Linked DNA regions of Homo sapiens: region 2 is linked to region 1. The links are contacts of gene promoters, found by promoter capture Hi-C in blood cells and fetal thymus (Javierre and others, 2016). All regions are on one chromosome and are shown on one strand. The core of a region is centred on a gene start or on the middle of the fragment in contact, and the rest is flanking DNA. Distances in the headings are between cores, read along the strand shown. Region 1 holds the start of SYNPO2 (synaptopodin 2). Region 2 overlaps SEC24D (SEC24 homolog D, COPII component).

What was found. Contacts are between HindIII fragments. The CHiCAGO score rates a contact against its expected background, and 5 or more counts as called.
Region 2: a contact is called between a fragment that was not itself captured here and the fragment with the promoter of SYNPO2 in region 1, in 2 of 17 cell types (total CD4 T cells and naive CD4 T cells). The highest score is 5.7, in total CD4 T cells.

Annotation. Positions count from the first base shown.
Region 1 is chr4:118,887,406-118,890,130 of GRCh38, reverse strand. It overlaps SYNPO2 (synaptopodin 2), which reads right to left and starts at 1,277. Exons shown (of 5, transcript NM_133477.3): 1 at 990-1,277. The coding sequence starts at 1,094. The HindIII fragment of the contact is 15,302 bases long and covers 1,146-2,725 here.
Region 2 is chr4:118,770,746-118,773,900 of GRCh38, reverse strand. All of the region lies in intron 8 of SEC24D (SEC24 homolog D, COPII component), which reads left to right. Among named protein-coding and RNA genes, the nearest start is that of SEC24D, 64 kb to the left of the region's middle. The HindIII fragment of the contact is 3,044 bases long and covers 1-2,941 here.

The sequences.
Region 1 (2,725 bases), core at 28-2,527:
AAGAGTAAAAGCCAGAGGGAAACAAACAATAACTACAAAGGCAATGGCCCATGTATTTCATAAAGATCTGTACCCATTTTTAATATAAGCATAAAATAGGAAATTAATCCCATGCTCTTGCATGTTCTTCAATACAATACTATAATTTGCAATTTGATGATAAGGTTAGGTAAAAGTTTGCTTAGTTTTGTGCATTTTAAGTTTTATTTTAGCTGAATGCCAATTAGAGAATACCAGATCCCCTTGGGCTAACCAGTAATGCAGGCAATCTAATGGCAATAAAAACTTAAAGCATTTTAAATAGTTATTAATGTGTTACAAAGTTACCTCTTAGTTACTCATAATATATTTAGATTATCTTCTAAGTTTATTTTTGAGATCTTGACCAAAAGAGTACATAAGAAGGAATACAGCATTTATTGGATTTTTGCATTTATTTGTCAAATCCTTAAAAGGGTATTCTTTTAAATAGATTTTATGACACTTCATCATACTTTTAAAATTATTGCCCAACATTGGCCTTTTCATGAATGCTGCATAATAAATGTCACTACCAACACTCTATATGAGTCCCCAAAATAGCCAAGCAAAGTCGTTATGCTGAACTGAGCGTTTCTCCTCTGCCAGAGCCAAGTGAAGTGACATCAAACAATAACTCAACTGAACATTCTAAAATTGCCTGGAAGAAACGCTCCCCAGTGTCTTGCTTGTTGTCAGAAGAACATGGTTAACTAGGCCTTTTCCTCAGCTGATAAATATGGCATTCTTCCCACCCACCCCTCATCGATTGCAAGTTAATTACATAGGATGTGGCCCATTACTCTCCAAAGTTTCTTAGAAAATAACTCACTTCCTAGAAAAATCTTAATATCCGCAGCAAAATCAAATAATACTTAGACTTCTGCATCAGAACCTGAAAACACCATCAGCAGGTTGCTTTCATTCCTTCCTTCCTAGCACAGAGCCGTGACACTTCGTTCAGGTCCTACCTTTGCAACTTGTAAGGGCTGCTTCTGCTCCTTGCCACCTTGCAATCTGAACCCCCAGGGCGCCCCTCCAGTCATGGAAATGCAGATAAAATCCCCTGTGCCCATGTTTTCCTTTTAGTTGGGCAGCATGAAGAGCTTGACGAGACAGACGAAGCTTGGGTGCGGTAGAGGATGCGCACTCAGCTTCGGGCGCCTGCCGAGGACGCAAGACTGGGTAATGCAGAGCGTCCGCCGCTGCTGCAGCCGCTGCCCCAGCCGCCGCCCCAGCCGCCTGCTGCGAATTTGTGCGGCTAATGGGCTCATTCTCAAGGAGGCAGAGGCGCTCGCAGCATCCAGGACACAGCCCACTCTTGCGTCACTCTCCTTTGCTCGGCCCACCTTCGAGGAAAGGAAAGCAGCTTCACACACAGGAGAATGTCCTCACGTGGGGCGAGATAAGGGAAAGGAGGACGGAAGGGAGAGCCAAAGTTATCTTGCACTAACAGATTAAATCCAAGCAGTTAATGGTATAAGTATGATTGAAAAACTTACATTTAATAATTCTGTAAATAGTAAAGGACACATGAAGGTTTAATCTCCACGCCATGAATGACGTCCTAAAATAGGAGCGTTGGGAATTCAACTACTAGAGGATTAGATTCTCTCAAATAAATGTTTTGAGACTTGCCACATTTATGAATGGAATAGACAAAAAAGAGTTAAAATGAGTTAAATTACTACTTTTCTGTCTGCATTCTGCTGAATTATTCCTATAAGAGGAAACAAAAGAAAGCACAAACTTTTTGTTAATAAACCTCCAGCTCTGAAAAGTACCTTTCTGAACCATATATTTAGAGAAAGGGGAAGAGAAGAGACAGAAAGGGAGAGAGAAAGAGAGAAAATGAATATGAATTTTTCTCCTGGAAACTACATTCTTATAATTACATCTATTGCATAGTTTTGGGTATGTTAAATTTTAACGTGTTTTGTTTTCTTTCTACCTGCTGATCTTCTTAAACCCAAACCCAACAGTTAGTCAACTGCATAAAATGTACAATGTCACCTACAGGTTTCTTATTTTTATAGTTTGTCATCCCATGTCATGAATCTGGGTGGTCCAATATAAAAGCAGATTTTGTATATTCCAAATATTTAAATGTTTTAAATCTGAATACAATCTGCCAAAAATGTACAAAAAGGACATTTTAATTTTCCTATAATACTTTTGTTTTCCATAACATTCATCCACATAAAAACATACTAAATAAGGAAGAGCCTGGGAAAGTTTGTTTGTGTTACTTGTGGTACCAAACAAAATTTCCAGACACGCTGCCTGTTTCAGCACTAAGAAGCACTATATACAGTAAGTCCTCACTTAAAACGTCACAGATAGGTTCATGGAAACTGTGACTTTAAAACCAATTTTACCATCGACTAATTGATAAAAACAAGGTTAAGTGACTACAGTCTATTTCTGGTCACAAAGACATCACCAAACTTTTAAATAAGATTAAAACACTTCTAATATTAAACATGGAAATAAATGTCAGCTACACATGCATTTAAGAAAGATTAATAAAAACAAGATAATCATGGACCCAATTTTTGGTGAATCAGTGAGTGAGGGCAGCTGTAGTGGTGGTGGATTCAATCAAGGAATAAATGTTTGCAAAAGGAAAATTATAAGGAGTACCTCCTGTCACAATGCAGTTCAAAACCACCACAAATATAGCAGGCTCACTGAGAAATTTCATACA
Region 2 (3,155 bases), core at 170-2,669, 120 kb after region 1:
GCTCTCTAAAAAGCACTTGTACGGTAAATAGCCTATTGAACTGTACCTTTTTTGTCCATATAGGCCAGGTAAATGTCATATACAGTAAAGCTAAAAGTAGAAAGCACATATAAGCTGCTTCTCATTTCTCTTTCACATGGAAATGTCTTTAATAAATGCAGTTGATACAGACTCTTTTCCTTTTCGCCTCTGGGCATAATCCTTTGGGAATCTGACTGACTGCTCATCTTCCAGCATGCCTAATAGTCTGAATGTTTAACATTTTTAAAGGGTAGTTGTTCATCACAGGTTCTGGATTATCTTTTCACATACCATTTCCATGCTTCTACTTATATCCCCCAATTAATCCAAATTACCAACTGACCTCCTCTTGAGACAGTTCCAAAGAATAAGCAGCACTCCAATTCCAAGAAGTAGCCGCTTGCCAAAGTTACATTGACAATAGGAAATCACTGCTGCTAGAGAGATACATTTACAGTGATTTCCTGGGAAATACAAGTTGATGCTGAATATGATCCTTAATCAGGCTAGAAAACTGTATAACATTTTGGCAGGTCTTATCTTAAATCTTCTCATCTTATTTAGGTCCCATTGTAGGCAAAAATTTCTTTCCCATGACCAGTAACTGCTTAGCCAAGGTATTTCCTTCAGGCACTTTGTAAAGTAGAATATTGGTGCTGTGGGGACAACTGTAGAGTCCTAGGATGCTGATTACATTCCTGAATACTTCTAATGAAGGAAATAAAGAGAGAAAAAAAAGGGGGAGGAAGAAGTATACATTGAAAATGTAAAATAAGTTTTTTTTTAAAATTAGTGAATAAGTGTTAGAAAGAGAGGGGAAAGTAGGTGGTTGAAGAGTTTGTGTGTGTATATTAGAACTTACATGAACTCCGGTGCTGAAAGATAAGGAGAGTGGGTAGTGGACCAATGAGAGAAGAAAGGAGAGATGGGGCCAGTTTCACCCAGCAATGTTCTGAGTGTGGGTGGGTATGACATTACTTATTCAGAGTATTCTGAAATCTGGGCTTTGGCTACTCTGTCTCTGCCCTTTACCAGCACCATGCCTGTGATAGGATGTTCCAACAGGAAGCTAGGCGTTTGCTTTAGAAAATCATTTTTCTTCATCGCAGTGTACTGCCGTGTGCCAGGACACACCAGACATCACTGTTGCTTTGTTATTTTGCACCACGATGGCTAATGTGGAGAGTGGGCTTGGACGCTGGCAGCAGGGCATTCGTGTCATTGTTCTCTTTGCTTCACAGGCTGTCATTAGGTTGCCTGCTCCACTTTGTGGCTCCCTATCCCAACCGTACCTCTGTTTCCCTACATATACTCAAGGAAAGTCGGCAGAGGATTAGGAACTTTAAAAATAAGTTTTTCTTGGCAATTAGTAAATGTGGCACATTCTGTAGTTTCTATACAATGTATGCATAAAATAGTCTTGTATTCCATGTTTATTTGTATTTTGCTTGGCCCGGAATATTTTTAAACCATTATCAAAAGTTTCTTTGAGAAAAGCAAGTTCAGTTAAAAGTTATTAGAGTTACATGTAATGAATGTAGCATGATTATCTTGGTTGTTTTCTTGCCTGCTGGTAAGGTATATACAGCCTTAATTTTTAGTTGCATAGTGCCACCTATTGGATCTATGTGATAAAAACACTTTGGTATTTAGCTGCTTTCTTTAATTCCTCATTGCAATTCATTACTTTCCTAAAACAGAAATACTGTAGCCAGGCTTGGGTATTCAGATTTTTCTTAATAATATAGATGCCAAAACAAAAATACACACAGCCTACAAACTTGATACAGATTTTTCATGATGGGTCTTTCTACACTGTATTTTCTTTGAGCATCTGTGTTTGTTTTGGAAATACAATCTGTGAATAATTTAACATCGCCTTTCTAAATTGAAAAGAGCTTTAAAAAGAGCTCTTGTTTATGATGTTCTGCCAAGTATTGTTTCTCCTCATACCCTGTTTTTTTCATGGCATTTGTGTGTACTTTTTTATTTACTGTCTTTCTACCCCGCTACACTGTAGGTCCCTCAAAGGTACCTGTGGTACAAATGTTAAAGTTACCCAAGAGAATGGCAGCAATACTCGGAAAACTGATAATGTATTCAAATAAGAAGACTTTTAAAATTTTACTAGTGGTATTAAGAAGGCATTGGTGGATACATCTTGATGTCTGCTTCTTTTACATGGAAAAATAATCAAAAGTTGTTTTATTTTGTTTCTTAATTGTTGGATATCATTTTAGTACTAAGTCTCATTTCGTAGAATGATATTCTCACTTGTGGTCCAAAATCAACCAGTGTTTATATACATACACAAGAGATACATTTTATTCAATTAAAGCACTTTTATTAAAATTAGTATCAGCACAGTATTTGGCACACCCGTTAATCCAAAAATACAAGGAAAAGATTCACATTTTTCCTCAGCCTCCCTATCACTTTCATGTTGTGTAAACTCAGGCCACACAGGGCCAGAACCAAACAATAGCCAGGTGAGGTTTTTATAGCCAGTCTTTCTATCCTTTCACTTTTCCACTTAAGAACAGAAAAGAAAGGGCAGACAGGGATATACTAAGAGCTAAATATTAAAGTATATTTGTAAACAAAATTTTTAAAATCTGAAAATATTTCTGAGGTAAATATAATTCCCTTGGTAAGGAAAAAAGATAACTTAGGCAATTTTTTGAAAAGTAACTTGATTTTTTTTTAAAGCCATGCACACCAAGATCGAACTCAAAAGAAAAGTAAGGTTAGCTATTTATGAGCTCATGCACACTGTGGTGCAGATAAGCTGACATCTGGAGAGTGCAAAGGGAAATCTTTGATGCTTTTCAACATGGCCTGAGAGAGATGAAACAAGCCAGTGTAATTTAGAAGCCCTTGCCCTGTTGCCTGAAAATAAAATGTAAACAGTTAAAAAGCTTTTAACATTCTTTACTGTCACCTCAGTTTTCTGAAGACCTTACTTACCTATCCATCATCTGGTTTCTAAAAAAGTGAAAATTGAAAAAACTGTAAGTGTATTTAATAGCCTAGACACAGTCATGACTTGACTCCAGTTTCCTGTTAGACATTGATTTTCAGTCCTGCAAGTTTGAATCTGTCAGGACTGGAATGCATAGGTGTTCATTGCCGAC